Regions from separate parts of the Homo sapiens genome. Here all the other regions are linked to region 1. Evidence: promoter capture Hi-C in human tissues and cell types (Jung and others, 2019). All regions are on one chromosome and are shown on one strand. The core of a region is centred on a gene start or on the middle of the fragment in contact, and the rest is flanking DNA. Distances in the headings are between cores, read along the strand shown. Region 1 holds the start of SLC2A6 (solute carrier family 2 member 6). Region 2 overlaps BRD3 (bromodomain containing 3). Region 3 has its middle 11 kb from the start of VAV2. Region 4 has its middle 16 kb from the start of MIR548AW.

The links. Contacts are between HindIII fragments. The study calls those that stand out against the background at their distance.
Region 2: a fragment that was not itself captured here is called in contact with the fragment with the promoter of SLC2A6 in region 1 in 2 of the 25 tissues and cell types used here (dorsolateral prefrontal cortex and spleen).
Region 3: a fragment that was not itself captured here is called in contact with the fragment with the promoter of SLC2A6 in region 1 in 1 of the 25 tissues and cell types used here (dorsolateral prefrontal cortex).
Region 4: a contact is called between a fragment that was not itself captured here and the fragment with the promoter of SLC2A6 in region 1, in 1 of the 25 tissues and cell types used here (spleen).

What each region holds. Positions count from the first base shown.
Region 1 is chr9:133,477,338-133,481,204 of GRCh38, forward strand. It overlaps SLC2A6 (solute carrier family 2 member 6), which reads right to left and starts at 1,762. Exons shown (of 10, transcript NM_017585.4): 1 at 1,631-1,762; 2 at 917-1,079. The coding sequence starts at 1,722. RefSeq lists enhancers at 1,292-1,351, 1,772-2,273 and a silencer at 1,512-2,161. The HindIII fragment of the contact is 12,347 bases long and covers 1-3,867 here.
Region 2 is chr9:134,060,728-134,064,594 of GRCh38, forward strand. All of the region lies in intron 1 of BRD3 (bromodomain containing 3), which reads right to left. Among named protein-coding and RNA genes, the nearest start is that of BRD3, 5.4 kb to the right of the region's middle. RefSeq lists an enhancer at 1,862-2,773. The HindIII fragment of the contact is 7,576 bases long and covers 1-3,867 here.
Region 3 is chr9:134,000,930-134,004,796 of GRCh38, forward strand. No RefSeq gene overlaps it. Among named protein-coding and RNA genes, the nearest start is that of VAV2, 11 kb to the left of the region's middle. The HindIII fragment of the contact is 4,029 bases long and covers 1-3,835 here.
Region 4 is chr9:132,959,713-132,963,579 of GRCh38, forward strand. It overlaps a transcript of GFI1B not described here and the pseudogene RPL39P24. Among named protein-coding and RNA genes, the nearest start is that of MIR548AW, 16 kb to the left of the region's middle. The HindIII fragment of the contact is 7,856 bases long and covers 1-3,867 here.

The DNA.
Region 1 (3,867 bases), core at 512-3,011:
GGAGCTGGTCAAGCACTTGGCCAAGTCAAGCACTTGAAACAGGGAGCCTCCTGTCTTCAAGGAACAGCCATTTGTTAGGGATGCCCAAACGGGGAATTCTGCTCTAAGGAAGAGGTGCTGCGCCACATATCCACAGTGGTTCTGTCCAGCCTGATGTTTAAATGTCTAATATTTTAATACAGGAGAATTCTGTGACTTGAAGGTACTGGGCTTTAAGATTTGGAGGTTCTTAAGTTCCCTGTACAGCAGCAACTGGGACCCCCTCTGGACTCTGCTAACTGGTAGTGGGACCTGGGCACATTGCCCAGCCTGTCTGCACCTCAGTTTCTTCAGCTGTCTTATGGGGAGAGCGCAAGTTCTACCTCGTGGCGTTGGCCCTGAGAATCAATGAACGTTCAGTGCCCAACACATGCCTGGCACATAGGAAGTGCTCAGTAAACCTTGGGAATTTTTATCTTAACTACTATGTTAACAACTCTACATATGAGGCTATTAAGATTATAATTTTAGACTCTGGGACTCTGGGATCTTCCTCTCCATCAGCCCACAATCTGTCCTGCGGACTCTCCTTGCCCCAGCCAGTGCCTCTCCCCACTGACACCTGATACCCTTGCCCCCATCCAGCCAACTGTGGGTGTGGGGACCCGGGGAAGCCTCAGCCCCACCTAGTATAGACCCTGACAGCCACCTCCCCACCTGCTCCTTCCCTCACCCTCTCCACTGGCTTTCAGTTCCTCATTTCAGAGGAATCCTGTAGCTTTACCCCACCCACTAGTGGCCTGGATGGCTGGGGGAGGGGGGACCAGGGCCCTGGAGGGACCCCCAAGGTGGAGAATTTGGGAGGTTCCTAGCTGGAGATAAGGCTCAGCAGGTCCCTCCTTCCTGCACCCACCCTCCTCCAGAGGATGGTCCTTACCCCAAACCAGGATGCCTGGGATTTGGTCAGATGCAGGTCAGGATCCAAGGAGCGCTCCAGGGCTGGGATGACAGGGGATGTGTAGACCAGGGCATACCCAAAGCTGAAATTGCCGAGCACTGCGGCGAAGGTGGCCAGGAACACCCTTTTGTTCTGCAGGGTCCTGGTGATGGTGGCGGACAAAAAGACCAGGGTCTCTGAGTCCCTCCTCCAGGGACCATTGCCTTTTCTGAACCCAGTGGCTGCCCGGCTCAGCGGGCAGTGCTAGGGAGGCCTGGGTCCAAGGCCATTCACGTTCCCAGGGCCTGAGCCCCAGCTCCCCTGGGAAATTCCCAGGCCATTGTTAGCTCATCCGCAGTGGCTGAGCCTCTGGTGCTGGGGCCTTTTCTCCGGAAGAGGAGGCTCTGGTTCTGCCCCCAGGGCGGCGGCTGGAGGCTTGCTGTGTGACCTCAGGCAGAACCCCTGCTCGCTGGGGCCTCAGTCTCACTGTCTGTGGCAGTGGGGGGCTGGGCCCGGTACTCTCGTGGATCGTTCCTTCCCTTAGGGGGACCAGTTCCTTAAATAGGAGTAGCGTGTCTGGGACAGGAGGGAGCCAGATGGCCCCTCGGTGGCGACTAGGTCAGGGGAGGCCCAGGGCGGGAGCCTGCCGCCGGCTGGAGGGAACCAGGGCCACCCCCAGGCCCCACCCGCAGCCCCCAACCTAGCGACTCTCACCCGACCCGCGCCCTGTCCCCTGGCGACGGGGGCGGCTTCTCGGGGAAGGTGTCGTAGTCCGGGCCCTCGGCTCCCAGCAGCGGCTCCTGCATGGCCGGGTCTCTCTCGGGGCGAGCGGAGGGCGCTCAGACTGGAGCAGCCGCCCGGGGCCAGCAGCTCCGAGGGCACCGGCCAGGCTCCGCCCCTTGGCCGCTATTGGCTGTGGGACGGCCCTGCAGAGACACGCCGGCCAATGGGGCGGCCGCAGGCTGTCCTGATGCTCGGATGCGGACCCGGCTTCCCCGGGCGCGGCCGGCACCGCGTGCGCCCCCGAAGGTCACGCCCCAAGACAGGATGGGGGTCCCAGGGCGGAGCCCCTGCTGGATCGTCCGGGGCCCCCGCGGAGCGCCGGAAGCGGCTCACCCGGCCCGGCTCTTGCAGGCGTGACTGCGGCAATGCGCGCAGCCCCTGTCGTACTCGCTCCCGCGGGGTGGAAACCGAGGCCCAGAGAGGCGAAGCCGAGCGCCAGGGTCACAGCGAATGCGCACCTCGCTCCTCCTTACGCTCTAGCCCTCCCCGTCGCGTGGCGTCTCAGGGCCACCTCTGCCCTGGCTCTCCCTGGCACCAGGGAATCGGGGTGTGTCAGGGCAGCAGCGGATGTGCGGGACGAAGGAGGCAGGAGGGGCCGGCGAGGCGCTGTGGGCAGCTCCAGTGGGCGAGGTCTGTATCCTCCACCCCAGGCTCTGGTGGTAGAAATAACCTGAGCTCGTGACACGTAACCCAGGTAGTAAGATAACATTGAAAAATAAGAAAAGCAGAAATGGAAAATTCCCGGGAAGACCGTCCTCAAAAAATCCCACAGCAGTTCCACCTCTCCCTTTGGGCCTTTTCGGGAAGAGGACGGAATCACGCCCTGCTCTGTTGGATGGACGTGCCACACACGCTTTTAAACGGAGCCTTTGTTGCTGAGTATTTGGGTCATTTCCCATTTTAGCTATTAACATGGTAAAGCATTTTTAAAAGTTAGAATTCCCTTTTATTATGATTGAAATACAACCATAATAGAACAATAAAATCACATCCATCTCCCGTCAGCCTGACCTTGATGGCGTTTTAGCCTCTTCCAGTCTTTTCCTCATGTGCCTATTTTGCATATTTGCTATTGGGGCCCCCATTAAACTGTGCAGCCCCTTTACGTCACCGTTTTCTTGCCATCAAGATCATAGGCTTTGGACTCAGGCACACCCTGGTATGGTGATCAGGCTGCACAGTCCTCGTGGCCATATATATACGTATATACATATATATGTGTATGTATTTTTACATATCTATATGTGTATTTTTTTTTTTTTTTTTGAGACGGAGTCTCGCTCTGTTGGCCAGGCTGGAGTGCAGTGGCACGATCTCAGCTTACTGCAACTTCCACCTCCCGAGTTCAAGCGATTCTCCTGCCTCAGCCTCCCAAGTAGCTGGGATTACAGGCATGTGCCACCACGCCCGGCTAATTTTTGTATTTTTAGTGGAGACGGGGTTTCACCATGTTGGCCAGCTTGGTCTTGAACTCCTGACCTTGTGATCCTTCCGCTTCAGCCTCACAAAGTGCTGGGATTACAGGCGTGAGTCACCGCACCCGGCCTTCTCTTTTTTTAAAATGTATTTTTTTTCTTTTAAAATCAACTTTAGGCCAGGTGCAGTGGTGTGTGCCTGTAATCCCAGCATTTAGGAGGCCAAGGTAGGAGAATTGCTTGATGCCAGGAGTCTGACACCAGCCTGGGCAACAAAGTGACCCTGTCTCTACAAAAAGCTAAAAAAGTTGTCCAGGTGTGATGGCAAGTGCCTGTGGCCCCAGCTACTCGGAAGGCAGAGGTGGGAAGATTGCTTGAGCCCAGGAGTTTGAGGCTGCGGTGAGCTGTGATCACACCACAGCACTCCAGCCTGGGTGACAGAGGGAGAGCCTTCTTGAAAAAATAAAATACAAGAAAAATCAACTTTGTTAAGCTATAATTTATATACAGTAAAATGAATCCATTTTAAATATAGGTTGATGAGTTTTGACAATTGTATAACCCCAAACACCCCCAATCAAGATATAAAACATTTCCACCTTTTCTTTCTTTCTTTTATCTTTTTTTGAGACAGAGTCTCTCTCTGTTGCCCAGGCTGGAGTGCAGTAGTGCGATCTCGGCTCACTGCAACCTCCGACCACTGGGTTCAAGCGATTCTCCTGCCTCAGCCTCCCGAGTAGCTGGGATTACAGG
Region 2 (3,867 bases), core at 706-3,205, 580 kb after region 1:
TCCAAGAGAGGCTCTGTGCTGGACATGGAAGGAATGTTGGTGAGGTGGCCCGAATCCTACCTATCCTCACCCTTGCTGTGTGGCCCCAGGCAGGCCCACCTCTGGCCCTGAAGCTGTGGGTGGCCCCCTGAACCCTTCCCAAGGTCCCTGGACTCTGCCTTCCTCTCCATAGGGCACAGGAGGACCTGAATGAAAAGCAGAAATTCAGCCCCCTTTAGGCTGGCCCAGCCCAGAATTCATCAGAAAAGATGCTGAGTCCAGGGCTGTTTCAGGGCTGTGGACAAACAGGGAGGGAATGGGAATCTGTCCAGTTGCCACCAAAGAAAACACCCAGAAATGCCAGTAGCAGTCTCCCTGACCCCTCCTGCCATTCCATGGCCCTCTTGGGGAGCAGAGACCCAGAGGGGCAGGAGCAGGCATGTCGCCTGGGCAGCACAGCAGCCTAGCCTTCAGGCACTCCACAGAGGGAGGACAGAGGGGTGCTGCCTCCAATGCCACACCCTGGGGCAAACCAGCCAAGGGGCAGCGGCTGGACCATGGGGGCATCTCCAGCCTGGCCTGGGCCCAGAGCAAAAAGTCCTTATTTGGGGTCCAGGGATGGGGAGTCCCAGCTTTCAGCAAACAGGCAGGGTTGGGAGGACAGCTTACCAAGGCCATTCCAGCTATAGCATGAGTCTGGAGGAGCAGTGGCAGGGAGGGGCAGGGCTACATAGCTCTGCAGGGGCTCAACCAGACCTGCCAGCTAAAGGGTGGGAGACAGGAGCACTGGAACCAAGGGTGGGGGTGCTGGAGGAAGCTAGGGGAGGCCTTTCCCAGGGGCTCCCCATTCCCCATGGGTCTCCAGCCCTGGAATTTCCATAGCTCTGGGCCTCTGTACCTGTGTCCCTGACTGGATGGCCCCCACTGGGGCACTCCAGCCCGTCTCCTGGACTCTGTCCTGCGTCAGTGGGGGTCAGATGAGCCCCATCTTCCATAAGTGGAGGGGACGCTCAGAGGTGAAGGGGCACAACGTCGCCCAGGCAGAGAAGGCCAGAGCCAGCTTGAACAAAGCTGGACATCCATGCCAGACTCACCGCCAACACCCCACAGCCCCAGAATTCTCGGGATAATGCTGGGAGCAGTGCTGTGATCGGCTGTGGCAGGAGGGAGCTGAGTCTGTGAGAAGGGATCCCAGCCTGCTGCCCCCACAGCCCCATCTAACCCGGCCAACCTAGCACCTGTCCCCAGGCGGCCAGAGGGGCCTCCCCAGCCCACGTGGTGACCAGCGGCCACCCTCCAGGACTCGGGAAACTGGATCTGTCAGGGCAGGGCTGCCTTCAGTGACAGACGGAGCCAACTGCTTCCTTCTATGGAGCCAGGGGAGAAGTCGGGGGTTGGGGGCCCCCTGTAGCCCTGGAGGAGCCCTGGGGAGGGCAGCTGGGCATCGTGGGCCCCACCCAAGCAGGCACGGCCAGCCCTGGCGCCTACTCCCCAGGGGAATCTGCCCAGTGCTGTGAGCCCCCCATGCACAGCGCACCTGCTCTCCTGCAGCTGCCTGGCCGCCTGGAGGGCCCGGCTCTACAGGCCCAGCCCTGTCCCGGGGCGCTTCAGCAGACTGGTGGGGCTATCCTGGGGCATGGCCCCAGACACGCTGGGCAGGTGCAGCTGCCAGCGCTGCCTCTCCCGTGACTGTCCCCTGCACCCCACAGTTCTCCCCACTCTGCACCCACCAGTGCCTTCTAGACCTAAGACCTCATATGCCTCCTGCTTTCTGAACCCAGGGCCTGTGCTTCTCCATGGCCCCACGGCCCTGGGTGAGCGGCCTCTCTGAAGGTTTCCCTTCCTGCCATGACGCCCCCACAGCCTTCTGGCCACAACCCGTCACCTCTTCCAAGCTCCGTCCCTACCCGCCTCTCTACCCACTCCTCGAATAGAGAGGACTCAAAGGACGCTCTACCCCCGTGGGACCCTCATGAGGCGCGTGAGGAGGCCCGACCCTCCACACATGCTGGGAACGAGGAAGTTGGCCCCACAGACACTGGTCAGGCCCTCCCAACCCCAGGCCACCGCCACGTAGTCAGGGTCTCCCACGGGTCTGGGAAGGGCAGGAGAGCCACGACTCAGGCAGGGGACTCTCTTCAGAGGGGCAGTGAGTGAGGACAGCACCTGGCCCTTTAGAGGGAAGGAGACACCGTGCTCTTAGAGGGACACAGCCTCAGGGTCAGGCCCTGGTGCTCCGCACTTCCTAAAACAAAGCTGCGGCAGGCCCACCTAGCATCCATCTGTCTGCTCCATCTCCTCTCAGCCGGCCTGACAAGAACCAAACTCACAAAACACCCCGGCCCCAGGAGACAGGCCTGGCCTCACTGCTGTCCCACTCAGCCATGCCGAGCCAGGACAAGGGGCCAGCAGGGCCGCAGCTCTCAGACCATCCCCTTGGTTATTTCGTCTATGTTCTCTGCTCACCCCCAACCACAAATGCCGAGGACTGCAGGACGCCCCCAGGCCTGTTGCCGGGACAGACCGGAGGCAGAGCTAAGAGCAAAGCGTGGGCATGCAGCACATCTGTCTGTGAGTCCACAGCCCACGGAGCCACCGTGCTTGACCCTTGCCTCCTACCCAGCCCCTGGTACCAGCGAGGGCCTGGTCAGCATACCCAGGGCTCTGTCCTGTGGTGTGGGCAGATGGGGGCGGGTGGCACCCTGGACCCGCAGGCTCACACAGCTGCCCCTTTGCACATTTTGCTCCTTGTGGGATTGTCAGGCCAAGGCTCCAGTGACGCATGGCACAGGGAGGGCATCCTCTCAGCCGCTTATAGTAGATTCTTCCTTCTGCCACATGACAGGTTATAGCTACAATACTCAGCACTCCTGCAGGGGCCGGGCACCTCACACAGATGCATCTGTGCCTCATCTCGGTCAGTGCTCACACGGAGGCTAAGGCCGTCCCGCCCCAGAGTCCCACAGCTCCCAGGTACCGACTCTTAGTCCCAGGTCCTCACAGGTGCACTGAGGGCACTCCCTCTGCCCCAGACTCCAGGCCTGGCCAGCAGCCGCCTCTGCAGATCACACCCGAGTCCACTGGGTGCTTTGCAAAATGCTGCAGCTGGTTATCAAGCCACACTCAGAAAGATCCAGCCGGCGACTCCTGAACATCACTGCACCCTCAGCGGGACACTTTTCCAAGTGGCTGGAAAAGTTGTCTCCCACAATACCGGATTAACTTCTGACGAACTCAGTACCTTGGGGGCCTGCGGCAAGGAGGGGGGCGGGGGCATGTTCCACGCCCCATCTTCCCAACACCAGGCTCCGAAGGCCCTGTGAGGAGGCAGCCTGCGAACTGACTCTCAGGGAACAGCCACAGACTGGTGCGAGACGCAGACAGCCAACAGCACGGACACAACAGGGTCCGAGCCTCCAGCCACACGCACAGGTCCTGGCTCCACTGCGAGCTCAATCAGGAGTGGCCAGAAGACTTACAATTTAAACCACCAACAGGTGAATGGCCCAAAGTGACACTTTCTCTTTAAAAGAGCTCTCGGTCAGGCATGGTGGCTCACACCTGTAATCTCAGCACTTTGGGAGGCTGAGATGGGTGGATCACCTGAGGTCAGGAGTTCAAGACCAGCCCGGCCAACATGGCGAAACCCCATCTTTACTAAAAAATTAAAAAAAATTAAAAAAAATAGCCAGGCGTGGTGGCGGGCACCTGTAATCCCAGCTACTTGGCAGGCTGAGCCAGGGAGAATTGCTTGAACCCAGGAGGTGGAGGTTGCAGTGAAGGGAAATCATGCCATTACACACCAGCCTGGGCAACAGAGTGATACTCTGTCTCAAAATAAGTAAATAAATAAATGAGCTCTCAAGCATCTTGGCCGAGCATGGTGGC
Region 3 (3,867 bases), core at 571-3,070, 520 kb after region 1:
GGGCATAGTGGCTCGCACCTGTAATCTCAGCACTTCGGGAGGCCGAGGCAGGAGGATTGCTTGAGGCCAGGAGTTTGAGACCGGCATGGGCAACACAGTGAGACCCCATCTCTACAATTTTTTTTTTTAATTAGCCAAGCATGGTGGCACACACCTGTGGTACCAGCTACTCAGGAGGCTGAGGTGGGAGGATCGCTTGAGCCCGGGAGGTCGAGGCTGCAGCAAGCAATGTTTGCACCACTGCACTTTCACCTGGGAGACAGAGCAAGGCCCTGTCTCAAAAAACAAAAAACAAATTAGATAAAGATTCAGTTCCTCAGTCAGACAAGCCTCATTTCAAGAGCTCAGAAGCCACACATGCCTGGTGGCCACTGATATCTTGAACTTGGACTTGGGTCCACCTGCCTGAAGCCTGGTTCTGCCCCACCAGCATGAGCTTCTGTCTCCTCTCTCATGAGTGGCCATATTGCGATCTGCCCCACCCGTGGCCATAGGGGTTCTGGGAGAGCGGGGATGTAAAGAGTTCCGCGCTGAGGCTGACCCCCCCATATCAATACAAGAATGCAAGGATTGCTACTAAAGAGACTCTTCTCCTCCATCAGCTCAGAACTGGGCCAGCTTTGCCTGTCCCTGGGACACTCAACAATAGCAGGCCTTGGAGACTGCTCAGATGTACACACATACGTGTACGTGTGCATGTGCATATGCTGGGAACTGGGGAGAGAGTGTGGGTGATACTTCCCCAAGGGTTGGCCAAGCCTTTCTGGGCTCTTTTCTCCATCTGACCCCCATCCCCACCTGCAGGAAGAATGACCCCTTTAAATCTGATTGTGCCCCCTGTTGCTCAAAGCCCACCTTTGTGTCTACATAAAACCCTACACACCTATATTTATAGCGGCATTGTTCAAAACAGCCAAAATGCTGAAACAACCCAAAAGTCCAACAAAACAAAACACGGGGCTGGATGCAGTGGCTCTCACCTGTAATTCCAACACTTTGGGAGGCTGAAGCAGGTGGACCACCTGAGGTCAGGAGTTCGAGACCAGCCTGGCCAGCATGGTAAAACCCCATCTCTACTAAAAATACACACAAAAAAAACCCAATGATAACTAGCCAGGTGTGGTGGCAGGCACCTGTAATCCTAGCTACTTGGGAGGCTAAGGCAGAAGAATTGCTTGAACCTGGGAGGCGGAGGTTGCAGTGAGCCGAGATCGTGCCATTGCACTCCAGCCTGGGCAACAAGAGCGAAATGAAAACAAAAACAAAAAACACAGATAAACATATGGTGGAATATTACTCAGCCTTAAAAAGGAATGAAGTTTTCTGATCCATGCTACAACATGGATGCAGCTCGAAATTTTATGTTCAGTGAAAGAAGCCAGACACAAAGGCTACAGGCTACACGTTGTATGATTCCATTTCTATGAAATGTCCAGAACAGGCAAATCCAGAGAAACAGAAAGTAGATTGCGAGGTGCCAGGAGGTGGGGAGGGGGAGTGACTGCTCATGGGTACAGGGGTTTGGGGAGGGATGAAAATGTTATAAAATTGATGGTGGCGATGGCTGCACAACTCTGTGAATATACCAAGAACCGCTGAATTGTGCACTGAATTGTGGGTGGATTGTACAGCATGCAACTTCTATTTCAATAAAGCTGTTTGTTATATTTCAAAACAAAACAACAGTCTTGGGTCCCCCACCCTCTGAGCACATCCAGCCTCCTAAGCATGATTCTCAAGGCCCTCTGCACCCCTCACAGCCCTCTCAGTCTAATTTATGCCACTCTCCAGACCCACCCCAAATCCTACAATACTCATGCTCTTGAAATTCTCTCCACACCAAGCTGTGTCTGGCTTTGTCCAGCAGTGGGCCCATGGGAGGTTGGTCCCCCAGGAAATGTGTATGTCTCCTAAAACCCAGCTCAGCCATCGCTTCCCTCAGGGACCATCTCCTGGCCTCCCCAGTGCCCTCTGTACCTTGCTTAGAGGTCCTGCAATGTCTGCCTGGGTGTGGGGTGGGCTCCTGGGGGCTTGGCCTGGGGGCTTGGCCTGGGGGCTTGGCCTGTGGGCTTACCTCCTTTTTGTCCTCCCAGCACCCAGAACAGGGTCTAGCATGTCTCTGGGCAACAGAGGCTGCCACCGTGGCCCCTTGCCTCCTGGGGAGGTCTCAGGGGTCCCAGAGGGTGCTGTGTTGTTTCTGAGCACAACTGATGAGAGTTAGACACCAGCATGAGTTCATTCTCCCATCCATCCACCCATCCATCCACCCACCCATCCACCCACCCATCCACCCATCCATCCACCCATCCACCCACCAACGCACCCATCCACCCATCCACCCATCCACCCATCCCTCCATCCATCCATCCATCCACCCATCCACCCATCCACCCATCCACCATTCCATCCTCCCACCCATCCATCCACTCAGCCCTCCATCTATCCATCCACCCTCTACCCATCCACTCATCCATCCATCCATCATTCATCCACCCATTTATCCACCCATCTACCCATCCACCCATGTGTCTATCCACCTACCCAACCATCCATCCACCATTCATCTGTACATGTATCCAGCCATCCATCCATCCATCCATCCGTACATTTATCCATCCATCCATCCATCCATCCATCCATCCATCTGTACATTTATCCATCCATCCATCAATCCATCCATCCATCCACCCTGTGCAAGGCCTGGGGAGATGCAGAGCCAGTCTAGGATTGTCACAGTGTCAGGAGGGAGGTGTCAGATGTGTCTGAGAAACAGAGGCTGCTGCCCTGGCCTCTTGTCTGCTAGGGAGGTCCCAGGGGTCCTAGAGGGTGCTGTGTTGTTTCTGAGCAGAGTTAGACACCTGCAGATGCCCTGAGCCCCCTCCCATCCCACCACACACCCCAAGCTTCATGTTGATGCTGTGTGGCAACTGTGCTGAACCTATCAGAGGTCTCCAAGGCAAGTGTTCTCCCAGGGTCACCAGGCTCATCCTGGCTCCAAAGAAGTGGGTTTTGCTGCTAGGGCCATGGTGAATTTCTTGGCTCCATCCCGTGGGAGAATGTGAAGGTCTGATTGCAGCTTCTGTGGGGCCCACGGGTGGGCTCAGGCTGGAGATGTTGATCTCAGACCCCAGTGGTGACTGTGGCACATCCAGGATGGGAGAGGCCGGTAGGAATGGCCTCCTGAGACTGGGAACCCCTTGAGAAGAACCCCAAGGTCTGGCCTCCCCAGCCTCTCACACATGCTCGGGGCTGTCTGTAGGAGAGCCAGGGGCTTCCCCAAGTAGGGGCTCCACCCAGTCACTCTGAGGCCCTGGGCAGGCGAGTCAAAACTCTGGCCTCTGGCCTCTGTGTGAAATGGGCACAGCAGGTACCCAGGGCGCTGAGATGGCCGCATGCCCAGCGCTGAGGACAGCTGACCCTCCCCTGGCTCAGGGCCCATGCAGTCTCCTCCAGGGTCCTAGCTCAGAGCTCCATGCTCGCCTGCCGTGACGCTAGGAAGTCCCTCCCATAGCCATCTTCACTTCCCTGAATGGTCCAAGCTCCCATGGGCTTACTCGGCAGAGGGTGGACCCGCTTCTCTCAAACACCAGTGGGGCCACCCAGGGTCCCAGCGCCCCACGACAAAAAGGGCAGGCAGTGGGGAAGTGGATGCTCAGCCCCCGCAGGTCACGTGCAGCCTGGACAGCTCCCCTCTGTGTCTGTCACCGGGAACCTTTGGCCCAGAGTGTGGCCCAGCTGGCCTGGCTCCTCCCAGGCCCTGGCTGCCTCAGATGTGAGCCTGGAGGTGGCCACTCTGAGGCCCCTGCTCACACCCTCGCCACTGCCACCCGGACATGGGGCCATCCCACGGTGACAGGCACGTGCACC
Region 4 (3,867 bases), core at 360-2,859, 520 kb before region 1:
CCGAGGGAGCAGCTGTTCCCTGGCTCTTTCTAAGCTTCTGGTGGTCACTGGCCATGCTTGGTGTTCCTTGGCTGTGGCTGCGTCAGCCCAGTCTCTGCCTCCATCTTCATGCAGGCTTCTCCTCTGTGTCCCTCTGTGTTTGCTCCTCTTCTTATGAGACCCCAGGCATTGTATTTAAAGCCCACCTCAACCCAGTGTGAATTCAGCTGAACCGAACTTCATCTTCAAAGACTCCCTTTCCAAATAAAGTCACGTTCTGCGGTTCCAGGTAGACATGAATTGGGATGAGGAGATAATTCAGTCCCCTATACCTGCTGGCAAGGAGCATGGACCCAGCAGATGACATGGGAAAGACTGATCCTACTCTGCTCAAGGCCAGGTCCAGCCCAGAACCACCCTACAAAGTGCTGCAGGAGAAAGACGTCAAAATTAGAGTGATGAGGGCAACTTACTGGTGAGGGTGAGACTTGAACTTTGCTTCTGGTTTCATCAAGAATTTGATCAATGGTGATGGAGCAGATGGGCTTTACGACAGTAGGACCCAGCTTGAGCAGAAGCAGGGAAGCAAGACCACAGAAGGCTTGCTTGCTTTATAAATGGTCAGGTGTAGGGAATAGGAGGCAAGAAAAGTCATGTATGAAGGACCCTGGGCTAAATAAGCAGCCTGGGCTATATCTGTAGGCAACGCAGAACCCCTGGAAGTTTGTGAGTTCAGGAAAGAAGGAAAGAGCTGTCTGTGGAATGTTGTCAAAGGCTTCATCTTGACATTGATGCCTGCCAATTTTATTTATTTATGTATTTATTGAGACAGGATCTCGCTTTGTCCCTGCTTGGAGTACAGTGGTGCGATCATAGCTCACTACAGCCTCGAGCTCCTGGGCTCAAGTGGTCCTCCCAACTCAGCCTCCCAAAGAGCTGGGAATATGGGCATGTACCACTACACCCGGATACTTTTTTTATTTTTATTTTTTTAGAGATTGGGCCTAACTATGTTTCCCAGGCTGGTTTCGAAGTCCTGGTCTCAAGAGATCCTCCCACCTCAGTCTCCCAAAACATTAGGGTTACAAGCATGAGCCACCGAGCCTGGCTCAATTAAAATTTAAAATTCTGGGTGTTTTGTCTTCTTGGGTAGGCCACCTCCTCTCTCAAATCCCTGATCACGCCTCTACACACCCCCAGCAATAAATTGTGCCGGGCCACACTCCGCAGCGTGTTGGATGTTAAAGAGTTTCATGGTCACCGTGAGACCATTTCTCAGTCCCCCAAGCAGCAGCATTCACAGCTAGAGGTTTTATTTTAGCTGCGCCTCCCCTGAAGCATATGCAGTGACCATTTGGAAAAAGATAAAGTTAGATCCCTCTCCACACCCTACACCAGAATAAACTTTAAGTGTCAAAAGTGAAATCATACGAGTGCAAGAAGAAAACATGAGTGAATTCTGTGTAATCAGGAGTGAAGAAAACCTTTCTAAAAATGGCTGAACAGTCAGAAACAATAGAAGACCGATAAGTTAGGCGACCTCAAAAAACCAAAGCAAAACAAAACAAAACAAAAACCTTTTCCATGGTAAGAAGAAAGCAAGCAGAGCAAAGTCAGAAGATAAATGATAGACGGAGAGAAAACTTTTGCAACTTATATCACAAACGGCCTCTCTAATATACACAGAACTATTATATCACAGTCTTAATTGTGAAAAGTCAATTATTTGACAAAAAAAAAAAACAACAGAAAAAAGGCATAAATGGAAAGTTTTCAGAAAAATGTAAGTGACCCTAAGAAGTATGAAAAGACAGCCTCACTCAACATAAAGGAAACACAAATTAAAACTACCCTGGGATGCCCTTCCTCCTGTCCTATCAGATTGGCAAAATACCTCTCATTTTTTTTTTTTTTTTTTGAGACGGAGTCTCGCTCTGTCGCCCAGGCTGGAGTGCAGTGGTGCAATCTTGGCTCACTGCAAGCTCTGCCTCCCGGGTTCACGCCATCCTCCTGCCTCAGCCTCCCCAGTAGCTGGGACTACAGGTGCCCGCCACCACACCTGGCCAATTTTTTGTGTTTTTAATAGAGACAGGGTTTCACCATGTTAGCCAGGATGGTCTCGATCTCCTGACCTCGTGATCTGCCTGCCTCAGCCTCCCAAAGTGCTGGGATTACAGGTGAGAGCCACCGCACCCGGCCAAAATTCCCCAAATTTGACAACCCACCTTGCTGGCAAGGCTGTGGGAACAAATCTACACTTCTGGGAGTGGGAGGACAGGACTGCACACCCTCTCTAGACAGGAATTTGGCCATATCTAAGGCCATAATGTGTGCATTCTTTCTTTGCTATGCATCTTCCCTACACACCTACACTCTACACACACACACACACACACACACAACCCTACACTCACACATGTGTGCATACAGAATTGTTTTTTTTTTCTTTTTTTTTTTTTCTTTTGAGACAGAATCTCACTCTGTCACACAGGCTGGAGTACAGTGGTACCATCTCAGCTTTCTGCAACCTCCACCTCCTGAGTTCAAGCAGTTCTCGTGGCTAAGCCTCCCAAGTAGCTGGGGCCACAGATGCGAGCCACCATGCCTGGCTAATTATTTGTATTTTTAGTGGAGACAGGGTTTCACCATGTTAGCCAGGCTGGTCTCAAACTCCTGACCTCAGGTGATCCGCTCACCTCAGCCTTCCAGAGTGCGGGATTACAAGTGTGAGCCTCCTCTCCTGGCCCATAAAAGATTCTTTCTTCTCTCTCTCTTCCCTTCTCTGCTATCGTGGTGTGTGTTTGACTCTGCTTCTCGCCATGTCTTCTCACAAGACTTTGAGGATTAAGTGATTCCTGGCCAAGAAACAAAAGCAAAAATCATCCCATTTCCCAGTGGAATCAGATGAAAACTGGTAATCAAATTAGGTACAACTCCAAAAGGAGATATTGAAGAAGAACCAAGCTGGGTCTATAAGGAATTACACATGAGATGACACACATATTATGTTCTATCAAGGTCACCATCATCACCATATCAAGCTGAAAATGTCACCATATCTGGACAGTTTGACATGTTTTATTAGGAATACATTTTTGACAAGGCGCAATGGCTCACGCCTGTAATCCCACTAATTTGGGAGGCCAAGGCGGGTGGATCACTTGAGGTCAGGAGTTTGAGGCCAGCCTAGCCAACGTGGTGAAAACCCATCTCTACTAAAAATACAAAAAAAAAAAAAAAAATAGCCAGGCGTGGTGGCACCAGCCTGCAGTCCCAGCTAATTGGGAGGCTGAGGCAGGAGAATCTCTTAAACCCAGGAGACAGAGGTTGCAATGAGCTGATATGGCGCCACTGCGCTCCAGCCTGGGCAACAGAGTGAGACTCCATCTCAAAAAAAAAAAAAAAAAAAAAAAGGAATCTATTTTTTCTCTTTGTTTACATGTTGTACACTAGTAGGCTGGGTTCAGTATTACATATATGGGAACTTTCATTTCAAAAAAATATTATTGGTCAGGCGTGGTGGCTCATGCCTGTAATCCCAGCACTTTGGGAGGCTGAGGCGGGCAGATCACGAGGTCAAGAGTTCAAGACCAGCCTGGCCAACGTGGTGAAACCCCATCTCTACTAAAAATACAAAAATTAGTGGCATGTTGTGGCACGCACTTGTAGTCCCAGCTACCCAGGAGGCGAAGGCAGAATAATCTCTTGAACCTGGGAGGCGGAGGTTGCAGTGAGCTAAAATCACGCCAGATGCATTCCAGTCTGGGCGACAGAGACAGATTCCGTCTCAAAAAAATTATTATTATTATTATTGTTATTATTATTTTCCCTTGAGATGGAGTCTTGCTGTCATCCAGGCTGGAGTGCAGTGGCGTGATCTCGAACTCC